2 separate regions of the Homo sapiens genome follow, and region 2 is linked to region 1. The links are contacts of gene promoters, found by promoter capture Hi-C in human tissues and cell types (Jung and others, 2019). All regions are on one chromosome and are shown on one strand. Each heading gives the region's core, a stretch centred on a gene start or on the middle of the fragment in contact. The rest is flanking DNA. Distances are from core to core; before and after follow the strand shown. Region 1 holds the start of CDKN2B (cyclin dependent kinase inhibitor 2B). Region 2 has its middle 19 kb from the start of MLLT3.

Evidence for each region. The method cuts DNA at HindIII sites, captures the fragments that hold promoters and counts their contacts. A contact is called where the count stands out against the background at its distance.
Region 2: a contact is called between a fragment that was not itself captured here and the fragment with the promoter of CDKN2B in region 1, in 1 of the 25 tissues and cell types used here (lymphoblastoid cells).

What each region holds. Positions count from the first base shown.
Region 1 is chr9:22,006,574-22,012,631 of GRCh38, reverse strand. It overlaps CDKN2B (cyclin dependent kinase inhibitor 2B), which reads left to right and starts at 3,327. Exons shown (of 2, transcript NM_004936.4): 1 at 3,327-3,834. The coding sequence starts at 3,679. All of the region lies in intron 1 of CDKN2B-AS1 (CDKN2B and CDKN2A antisense cis and trans regulatory RNA 1), which reads right to left. It also overlaps the pseudogene UBA52P6. RefSeq lists silencers at 1,368-1,662, 3,786-3,985. The HindIII fragment of the contact is 12,658 bases long and covers 120-6,058 here.
Region 2 is chr9:20,638,442-20,644,499 of GRCh38, reverse strand. No RefSeq gene overlaps it. Among named protein-coding and RNA genes, the nearest start is that of MLLT3, 19 kb to the right of the region's middle. The HindIII fragment of the contact is 3,449 bases long and covers 1,957-5,405 here.

The DNA.
Region 1 (6,058 bases), core at 2,078-4,577:
TTTTTTTTTTCCAGTCAATGAAAGGGACACTTTATTGAGGCTCCAGGGCCATGGGGCCTGGGCAGGAGGCTGCCCTCCGAGGAAGGAAGAGCCTTATTTGACCTTCTTGGGGTGCAGGTTGTTGGTGTGGCCACACTTCTTCTTGCGGCAATTGACAGCATAGGGGTGCAGGAGAGCATAGCGCTTATGGCAGATCATCTTGTTTCAGCTGTATTTCTAGGTGAGCTGGAAGAGTGAAGGCTCAATAATGCCACCTCGCAGGTGCAGCACCAGGTGCGGGGTGGGCTGTTTCTGGACGTTGTAGTCTGAGAGAGTGCGGCCATCCTCCAGCTGTTTGCTGGCAAATATCAGACGCTGCTTGTCAGGGGGGATACCCTCCTTGTCTTGAATTTTCGCACTGACATTCTCAATGGTGTCACTGGGCTCGACCTCAAGGGTGATGGTCTTGCCCGTGAGGGTCTTCACAAAGATCTGCATCTCTGTGTCTGCAGCTCGGCTGCCTCGCTGAAGAAAAAGAGGATGGCAGATCTGTTCATACTTCTATATCAAGGTCATATACAGACAATTTCACCAACTAGAATATAAAAATATTATTACTAGTGATCTGAGTTATGTGCAACATTGGAATGGATGCCACTCATTCCCTTCTACTGACCTCCAAAATTCTATGCCAATTTACCATTAACTTTCTCTTTCTTTCTTCTCAATTATAAATTCTCCACCTTATTAAAAGACATGGCTCTGACAATTCCAAGTTTCAGCTGCCCACTATGTTCCCATCCACTTCATCTTTTAAATGTGTTTAAAGCATTAACAACAGATTGTGTTTCACCCTAGAGACAGCTGGGTTTCAAGGAGAGGTAAAATGTTTCATAATCTCACTCTATTGTCCAAGACAAATGTGCTATTGTATTACATGTGAAATGTCATCTTTGAAGTCTGGTAAGGGTGTGCTGTGAGGTGAGCCATCTGGAAAACACAGTGTAGACTGAAAAATAATTATAAGCCAGTTTATTACTTTTTTCCAGTTAAGCCTACCATGACAGCTGCTAAAAAAAACACTATGTAGTATAAAGGGTAAAAAGACTCTGAAGTCGCAAAAGTTATACCCACCTCCAACAATGATTAGCTAGTATACAAGTCACTCAAATTCTCTGATCCTTTTGGCTTGTCTGTAAAATTGAAATATGGACACATGCCACAGAGGAGTTTTATGAGTATTAAATGAAACAACAGCTGTAAAGCACTTCGTACAGAGTACACAATAAGTTTGATTTCTCTTCTCGTCTTCTAAATATAGACTATATAATATTCTTTATACAGAGAATATTAGATAAAATCCAATCATATTTGAAAACCAGGTTGAGCAGGTTGGTTTTTCAAAGAAATTCATTGAGCTTCCATAATGTCCTTTCTATTTGACGGGAGAAAAGGGGCTTTGGAAGATCAAGTGTGAAGCTTTAGAATTCTGTCTGGAGCTGGTTAGGACCACCCAGGCCTGAGTATAAGCAAAGCGCTGTCCGTGGTGCTAGTAAGCGCGAATGCCCCCGGCAACGTTTTCCCTACCCAAAGTTGTTTTTCATTCAGTCAACTTGCTTCGCGAAGCTCACACATCTGCCTCGTGCAAGATTCTCAGTCATTTTACTTAGTCATTGGTTCTTTCCCTATCACCATTCTTTATGTCCCCCTCAAAGAAAAACATTATCTTCCATTTCCTTATCAACTCCAAACAGCTTTCATTTTTCTGACATATTTACTACCTAAGAAAATGGCTCAAGAATTGGGTCAGACTATCTTGTCCTAACTTTTCTGATAAGTTTCAGAGAAACTCAAAGGTCAAAACAAGAGCATAAGAGTAAAAGGTAGAGAAATTAAGAAACTGAAGACTAGGAAATGGGGGTTGGATGGGAAAGAAAAAGAAATTGTTATTAATGCTACCCGGTTCCCTTCCCTGTCCAGGTGGATTTCAGCTCTGTTGAGGCTCTGTCAGTAGATTTTCAGCCCTAACCAGCACTTCCATGGTGGTGGCACTTCCACTGCCTTTAAAAGAAAGAGCTTTTTTTAATTCTACAGGGATTTGGGGGATGAGGAGTCAGAGCTAAGGTATCCTAAAAAAAACATGTGAAGACTCTCATTTTGCAATACACAAGCAATTGCCCTCCTGTTAAGACTTTGTCTTCCTCAGCACTCCGAACCAAAATGATTCTGTAAACAAAAATTGTTCACTTTTAGGAGAGGTCCACTTATGCAGTTCCTCACCAAAGTTTTTAGGCAACAAATCCATAACTTGCGGTTCTCTTCCTATCCAATGTAGCATCCGCTGAAATGTTTTAAATATTTTAAGTAATAAATGTTGATTCAAACTCACCTAGGAAGATTAGGAAGGGGAAAAAAAGCACTTGGCATTTAAATCTTCAGAAGAGAATTTAATGACAGGTTCAGCCTGTTTAATGACAAGCCCAGCACCACACCCCTCTCTTATGATGTTTCATTATTACTGCATAAATTTCCTTTATTACTCATGATAAATAAAAATAAGATACCTGACAAAGTGGGTTTAAATAGGTAAGAGTGCAAACAAAGATTTACTGTACAAATATGATGAAACTGGGATCTCAGATTCTTAAAGTATAATTTTTTTTTGTCTTATGTGTGCCAGGTTGCCACTCTCAATCTCGAACTAGTTTTTTTCTCTTTTAAGGGTTGTATCCATAATGCAAAAATGGAAAGAATTAAAAAGCACACGCAAAACATGATTCTCGGGATTTTTCTCTATTTTTATGGTTGACTAATTCAAACAGAAAGACACATCCAAGAGAAAATTGCTAAGTTTGATACAAGTTATGAAACTTGTGAAGCCCAAGTACTGCCTGGGGATGAATTTAACTTGTATGACAGGTGCAGAGCTGTCGCTTTCAGACATCTTAAGAAACACGGAGTTATTTTGAATGACTTTCTCTCGGTCACAAGGGAGCCACCAACGTCTCCACAGTGAAACCAACTGGCTGGCTGAAGGAACAGAAATCCTCTGCTCCGCCTACTGGGGATTAGGAGCTGAGGGCAGTGGTGAACATTCCCAAAATATTAGCCTTGGCTTTACTGGACATCCAGCGAGCAGTGCAGCCAGCATTCCTGGCGGCTCCCTGGCCCAGTCTCTGGCGCATGCGTCCTAGCATCTTTGGGCAGGCTTCCCCGCCCTCGTGACGCGTCGGCCCGGGCCTGGCCTCCCGGCGATCACAGCGGACAGGGGGCGGAGCCTAAGGGGGTGGGGAGACGCCGGCCCCTTGGCCCAGCTGAAAACGGAATTCTTTGCCGGCTGGCTCCCCACTCTGCCAGAGCGAGGCGGGGCAGTGAGGACTCCGCGACGCGTCCGCACCCTGCGGCCAGAGCGGCTTTGAGCTCGGCTGCGTCCGCGCTAGGCGCTTTTTCCCAGAAGCAATCCAGGCGCGCCCGCTGGTTCTTGAGCGCCAGGAAAAGCCCGGAGCTAACGACCGGCCGCTCGGCCACTGCACGGGGCCCCAAGCCGCAGAAGGACGACGGGAGGGTAATGAAGCTGAGCCCAGGTCTCCTAGGAAGGAGAGAGTGCGCCGGAGCAGCGTGGGAAAGAAGGGAAGAGTGTCGTTAAGTTTACGGCCAACGGTGGATTATCCGGGCCGCTGCGCGTCTGGGGGCTGCGGAATGCGCGAGGAGAACAAGGGCATGCCCAGTGGGGGCGGCAGCGATGAGGGTCTGGCCAGCGCCGCGGCGCGGGGACTAGTGGAGAAGGTGCGACAGCTCCTGGAAGCCGGCGCGGATCCCAACGGAGTCAACCGTTTCGGGAGGCGCGCGATCCAGGTAGCTGGGGCCCCAGGGCCTCGCCGGCAGGGGGCGCGCGAACGCGGGGCGCGGCCTCGGCGGATCGGGGCTGGAACCTAGATCGCCGATGTAGATTTGTACAGGAGTCTCCGTTGGCCGGAGGTGTGCATTCCACGCGTAAAACAGGCTTTTACCCAGCAAAAATCCTAAAGAGAGACATTGAAAAACCCACTGTTTAAGCTTTTTTTAGTGGTTTTTGTTCTGCCATCTCATGATCAGAGATGCAAGGAATAGACTGAATTGGGGAGAAAAGGAGAAAAGGAAAGCTTATTTAGGGAAGAAGATTATCTTGTCTGTCTGCTTTCAACGATAAAGATAAGTAAAGTATAAGTTACGCATTCTAGATTGGATTTAAGGAATTCTACAAAATCATAGTACATGGAAAAAATCAATGTAAACTTCTAAGCTACTATATGAAATCTGTTGTATTGTTTTCTCATAGAGGTTAATTGAGAATGAGACGGGATTCCTCAACCACAGTACTTAGTTCCTTTTATGTTAGCAGTGTCTTATGAGTGATGCATAAGAGAAAAAATATATAGTTCTATAGGTTTCTCATTCTTTAATTATCATACTCAGTGCCCAGATTACAAAAATATTCCTGCAGCAACTGTTAGGTCCTTTTTGAATGGCAAAGGATCTTCATAAATAATGCATCTTTATCTTCATTGTTAAAATACACTTATTCAATGTTTAAGTACGAATCCTGCTTTAATTAGTACTGATATTTTTTATTTCTTTTACAATCTCGGACAACTCTTTTGTACTTTACCGTTGGCTAGTGGTCATATTCAGTACTCACCTCACTATCACCCTCTAAAACTAAGCTAATATTAAGGGATCTTGTTAATAGTATAGATTTTAAAGAAGTGTTCATTTCTTTTGAATTCTTAGAATAATGGTATAACAAATGAGGGATTTTTAAAGGAGCAAAAATATTGTAAAGTGCATCTTAAAAACTTAAAATTTTATTAATAATTATAAAAACAAGTTATATATGTAATTCACCATTTTCTGAAATACTAACAGCAGCTATTTTCCCCTTTTTTTCTATGTAAAATATCCTTACATCACTAGTAGATATAACTTATCACGGTTTTTAAGAGATGAAATGAACATTTCTAATATTAATGAAACAAGCCAACAAAACATGAGAAGTATACTGCCTTTCAATTAAATGGTATATTTTAAAGTGCATAAACCCATAACAAATAACTCGATTTTAGACATTTAGTTACCAAAAATTGTCTTATAATTGACTTTAAATATGACAGCAAATGTTTTCATAATGTTCATGTACACAAATGGCTGCTACAGGATTACTCCTGCAAAACATCATTTTTTCTAAGTTATGCATCATCCTGATTGACTGCTAACATCCAAGCTCTATTTATTTATTTATTTATTTTATTTTTTTTGAGATGAGGCCTCACTCTGTCGGACAGGCTGGAGTGCAGTGGCACAATCTCAGCTCACTGCAACCTCTTCCAGGATGCAAGCGATTCTCCTGCCTCAGCCTCCTGAGTTGCTGGGACTACAGGCACGCCCCACCATGCCCAGCTAATTTTTTATTTTTTGTAGTAGAGACGGGATTTCACCATGTTGGCCAGGCTGGTCTCGAACTCCTGACCTCAGGTGATCTGCCTGCTATGGCCTCCCAAAGTGCTGGGATTACAGGCATAAGCCACTGGGCCTGGCCCAAGCTCTTTTTATATAGCAAAATATTTACTGTTTAACATTTTTAAATCTTAGCTATTATAAAATCCTGTAGTATACAAATATAGTTAGTTTTATATTACATTAAAAATATTATAGTCTAAATTTAAAATGATGAACTGTTAAGGAAAAATCATTTATTATAATTTTATAAGATTTTGCATGATTTAATTTACTTTTCCCTTCTAATCTCCAACTTTGGCTCAAATTATCACACTACAAGCCAGTTATGAGCTCAGACACATGACAAACAAAAGCCTTCCGCACGGGATTTGCTATGAGAACTAAATAAATTAAAAAAAAAAGAAAGAAAAAAACTTAGTTGTTTATTTTCTCCCCTAAACCATTACTCCCAACTTCTAACAAACAGTAGTTGACTACCTAATAAATATTTGTAGACCTGGATTATGGAGGAGGGGTCAGCAAGGCAAATAATTTAAAACTTTAAAAGCCGAATAAATTTAACTCTGCCCCTAAATCATTTAAC
Region 2 (6,058 bases), core at 2,432-4,931, 1.4 Mb after region 1:
ATAATGACCCTGGCCTGAAATGTGTATTCTTTCCTTTTGCTAGATTAACCTACTGTATAATTTTGGGTAAAAGGTGCTGATTGCTTTGATTCATTGCAGTTGGTTCTAGTCCAAGCTTAATTAGTTTGGAATTAAACTGGATCCAATACTAGCACCTTTTATAGTGTCTATTGAAATACAATATTAGAGCGATGAAATTCTTCTTGAATGAGAGGTGTTGGTGAGATTTTTAGCCAAGACAAAGTCATGTTTACTAGCTGGATTAGCCAGGGTTTCTAAAGGGACAGAACTACTAGGATATACGTATATATGAAGGGGAGTTTATTAGGAGAATTGACTCACACAATCGCAAGGCGAAGTCCCACAGTAGGCCATCTGCAAGCTGAGCAGCAAGGAAGCCAGTGCGAGTCCCCAAACCTCAGAAGTAGGGAAGCCGACAGTGCAGCCTTCAGTCTGTGGTTGAAGGCATGAGAGCCCCCAGCAAACCACCCATGTAAGTCCAAGAGTCCAAAAGTGAAGAACTTGGAGTCTGATGTTCAATGACAGGAAGCATCCAGCACGGGAGAAAGATGAAGACTGGAAGATTCAGCAAGTCTGCTGTTTACAACTTCTGCTTGGCGGCTGATTAGGTGGTGCCCGACCAGCTTGAGGGTGGATCTGCCTCTCCCAGTCCACTGACTCAAATGTTAATCCCCTTTGGCAACACCCTCAGAGACACATCAGGAACAATACTTTGCATCCTTCAATCCAATCAAGTTGACACTCAGTCTTAACATTCACACCAGCCAAAATAGATCAGAAACAAAAATTAGAAGAAATTTACTGGACTTAGCCTAATTAGTGAGATAGAGCTGCTTCGTGCGGTGCTGTGGTTAAGTGATTAGGTAACAATGATCCAAACACAATAAAATTCAACATCCTGAGGTGATGCCTTATGAATCCTTTCCTCCTTGAAAAGCCTGTAACACGGTGGACTACTCTTTTCTTGTCCTTTTCCCTAGCCTTCACAATTCCACACTCTCCTGATACTTCTCATTAGTCACATTCTCCCCTGGTTTTAATAATAGTTGGATTAGCTTGGATAAAGGCTAGAATGAGGTAACAAGAGACAAAAAATACTCAAATAAGATAAAGAGTTATTTCTCATGTAATATTTTGTGTATATTGTCCAGGAATAATATGGTGGCCCAGTAGGTTAGAGAACCTGAGGTCCTTTTAATGTATGACAGCCACTGGGTACGACCCTCATCCATGTGGTCAAAATGACCTCACTATCATATTTGCATTCAACCCCATGGGAAGCAGCGACATGCTTCTTTCCTACAAAAGGCATAATTGAGAAAGTGAAAACATCATTTCTAATAAATCCCACAAATGAGAACCTAATCATATGGCCACAATTAGCTGCACAGAGGCTGGGAAATGTAGTCTATATTTGGGGAATCGTGTGCCCAGCTAAAGCTCTATTGTATAGAAAAACAGCACTTTCTAACACTAAGGTTTACTAAATATGTCTCATTACTTCAGATTTCTCTCCTGATGTTCACACCTAGTTATTCAACTGTTTACTGAGCATTTATTTATTCCACAAATATTTAACTGCGCTCCTGTGTTACCAGCCACACTAACAAAGATGCTTTTTCTATTTAGATGTTATTCAGAACCCTAACATGTCCAAAGCTGACCATTCCGCATTCCCTAAACTTTCCTCCTTCCTATCTAGGTTATTTGCACCATTATTCAACCAGCTGCCCAACTCAGAAGTGAAGGTGTCTCATACTTATATTCTTCCCTCTCTCATCCAAACTGTCACCAGGCCTAATCAAATCTACCACCTAAACAGATCTCCATTCTAGCCACTTTTCTCCACATACCTCCTTTTAACTGTCGTCTAGGACTCAGTCCTCTCTGTTTTTGAAATTGAAGTATAACATATGTACAGTAAATATGTGAAGTGTGCTAATATAAATGTAAAGTTTAATGGGTTTTACATATGTGCATACCCATTTAACCACCATCCAGATGAAGATACTTCTCAAGATTCTCTGTGTTCTTTCTCAATCAAGCACTATTTCTCCTGTTTAGATAGTTGTTTAAGCCTTTTCAATGGACACTGACCATCTTTCAGTTTCTTTATCTCTCTGTTTCTGACTGCCTGCTTGTCTCTCCACCTCTCTTTCTCTCTCTCTCTCTCTCCTGTGTGTGTGCGTGTGTGTGTGTGTGTGTGTGTGTATTTTTCCCTTGTCCCTGGGGCTTCATTTTACTTCTGTTCTCTCTCTTCCTTTTTGGCTGATAAATCCTTCTGTAACCCAGATCTCAGCTGAGATATCACCTTTATCAAGAAACCCTGTCAGTTGCTGGTATGGGGATTTGCCTAAATAACCTTGTTATGGTTATCTTAGCTTGGGAAAAGGAGAAATAAAACATGTTGAACATGTTTTGATGTAGAACATAGAATATATTTGTTTTGGGTAAACGAATTGGAGATAGTATTTTACTTGTAGGTGAGACCTGGTCACCAAAATATTTTCATTCCTAGTATTAGTTTAAACATTGCTGCTGTAAGTTAGCTATCACAGCAAATCAATAATATTTAAGTCATAGCTCCTTTCAGTGGATCTCACTAGTAAATAAGCCATTGAAAAGTATGACCATATTTATTTTTAGTGAACTAATGTTTTATAATATACATCTAGTAAAGTATACATAACTTAGTGAGTAGTCTGATGAATTCTGATGACTGTATACCTCTGGGTAACCAATATCCCAACTGGTTTCCAAAGTAGAACTTTTCCAGCACCCCAAATAATTCCTTTGTGCCTTTTTGGTCAATTCCTCTAAAATGCAGTTACTGTTCTAATTTCTACCACAATTCATTGGTTTCGCATGTGTTGGAATGCCATGTAAGTAGAATCAGATAGTATATGTATATTCATGTATTTTGCTTCTTTTGCTCAACATAACGTTTTTCAGATTCATTTATGTTGTTGCATATATGAGTAGTTCATTCTTATTTTATTACTGAACAGTATTCCAATGTAGTATATGTGGCACAATTTATCCATTTTACCAATTTTCATATTGGTGGACATACGGACTATTCCCTATTTTGGCCTATAACAAATAAATCTACTATGAACATTCTTACGTAAGTCTTTTTGTGAAGATATGTCTTTATGTTTCATAAACACCTAGAAGTTGAATCCAGATGGATCATAGAATAGGTATATTTTTATCTTTATTAGAAACTGTTAAACAGTTTATCAAAGATTGGTATTATTTTATACTCCAACTAGAAATGTATGCAAATTCTACTTGTTCCACATCCACATCAAAATCTAGTGTGTCAATCTTTTTAATGTTTGTCCTTTTAGAAGTGTGAAATGATTTCTCATTGCAGTTTTCACTTGCATTTCCCTAATGATTAAAAATGCTGAGCACCTTTTCTACATGTCTGTCCTGGAATCTTTAAAGTGTGGCTCTTGTTCTCATTCTTACAAAATGGTGCTGGAGCTCTAGCTGTCACTGCGCCGTAGGCAGAAGGAGGAACAAAGGGTCCAGATCTTACAGTCATGTATCTGCTGAGTCTTTCTCAGAAGCCTCACCCATGGGCTTCTCTTTCTATCTCATTGGTCAAAATTATGTCACATGCCTAACCAATCTGCCAGGAAGGCTGGGTAAAGCAATTTTTTAAGCAGATCTTCCAGGTTTCTATTACTGTGAAACAAACCAACTCAAAAGTTAATGGCTTAGAATGAAAATGTGTTTTTCTCACAAATAGGCCATTTGGGCAAAGCTTAGCAGAGACAGCTTGTCTCTGCTTCACTTGGCATCAGCCTAGAGGCAATTGTTGCTGGCTGCCGGCCAAGAAGACTCACACAGTTGGAACTGTGGTTAGAACACCTACACATGAGCTTTTCATGTGGGTTCTTGGATTCCCACACCACGATAGCTGAGTCCCAAGGGTGAGGGTCCCAAGAGAGACTGAGGTAGAAACCATATCGCCTTTTATGACCTGGAAGTCACACATTATCACTTGTGCTGTATTCTATTCATTGTGGAAAATACAAAGGTCTGCCTGGTTAAAGGGGAAGAGAAGTCGATTTTACAACTTGATCTGGGGGTGGCGAGGTATGGAAGAGCAAGTGGACCAAAATATTGCTGTGGGCTGGGCCCAGTGGCTCACGCCTATAATCCCAGCTCTTTGGGAGGCCGAGGCAGGTGGATCATTTGAGGTCAGGAATTTGAGACCAGCCTGGCCAACATGGTGAAACCCCGTCTCTACTGAAAAAATACAAAAATTAGCCAGATGTAGTGGCGCATGCCTGTAATCCCAACTACTTCAGGAGGCTGAGGCGGGAGAATAGCTTGAACCTGGGAGGCGGAGGTTGCAGTGAGCCGAGATCGTGCCACTGCACCCCAGCCTGAGCGACAAGACTGAGATTCCATCTCAAAAACAAAAAAAACAAAAAACAAAATATTACTGTGGCCATTTTGGGGAAATACAATCTGCTACAATTGGGCATGTTGCTTACCCCTAACTAAGCTGGGATTCTCTTCACAAGAAAGATGTGGCGAATAAATATTGGGTAGGCAAGCTGAGTTTCTGTCATGTTCTTTACACATATAACATTATAATTGTTTGCTTTCCACTAGACTGTAAACTCCATAAAGACAGCAGCCAGATTTGTCCATCTGTCTTTATTAATTATTGGTTCCTTAGGGCCTAAGGAAAAAAAAATAGGCATTCAAGAAATATTTCTCAATGAACAAGTATTAAACTAAATAAAACCATATATAGAATATCAGTTTTAGAAAATAAACTGTGATGAAACATTAGGAAAGAATGTAAAAATTGAAATTTTAAGTCAATAACCTGCCAGCCTGGAGCTGGGAGCTGTGGCTCACACCTGTAATCTCAGCACTTTGGGAGGCTGGGACAGGTAGATCGCTTGAGCTCAGGAGTTTGGGACCAGCCTGGGCAACGTGGCAAAACCCTGTCTTTACAAAAAATACAAAAATTTGTCAGGTGTGGTGGTGCATGGCTGTAGTCCCAGCTACTCAGGAGGCTGAGTTGGGAGGATCACTTGAGCCCAGGAGGTTGACGCTGCAGTGAGCCATGATTATGTCACTGTACATCAGCCTGGGTGACATAGTGAGACCCTATGACAATAAATAAGTAAATAAATAAATAAAAACCTATCAGGCTGGGCAACATAGTAAGACCCTATCTCTACAAAAATCTTTTTAAAAAATTAGCTGAGTGTGGTGGCATGCACCTGCAGTGGCAGCTATTTGGGAGGCTGAGGTGGGAGGATCACTTGAGCCCAGGAGTTCAAGGCTGCAGTGAGCCATGATCACAGCACTGCATTCCAGCCTGGGGGATAGAGTGAGATTGTCTCTAAAAAAAAGTCAATAACCTGCAGAAAGCCCAATAAACATATATGCTAAGGATTAAAACAAATCTCATTCTACTTTTTAAAATAAAAAACAAAATAAAGTGCTATTTAGTGAGGCAATCAGAGACCAAAAGCCAGTCCTTATGACTTTTCTATACATTACTTTACATTGGTTTAGAATATCCAGCCATTGACCATTATTTGCTATTGTTGGAGACAGTTTGGAAAATGCATGCTCCCTGATCCTTACTGGATCAGTATTGAGGTCAAGAATTTGTTCATTCTGTGAACTATCTCTTCTTCATCCTTAAGTACATTTTTAGCTTACATAGTTTAAAATCTTTATTTTCTCTTTTTATTTATTTATTGATTTATTTATTATTTATTTATTGCTTTTTAGTTTTAGAGACAAGGTCTCATTCAGTTACCCAGGCTGGAGTGCAGTGGCACTATCATAGCCCACTGTAACCTCAAACTCCTGGACTCAAGCAATCCTCCCACTTCAGCTTCCCGAGTACCTGGGACTACACGTGCACACCACCATGCCCAGCTAATTAAAAGAAAAAAAATTCCTTGTAGAGACGGGGTTTCTCTGTGTTTCCCAGGGCGGTCTCTAATTTCTGGCCTCAAGCAATCTTTCCACCTCAGCCTCCCAAACT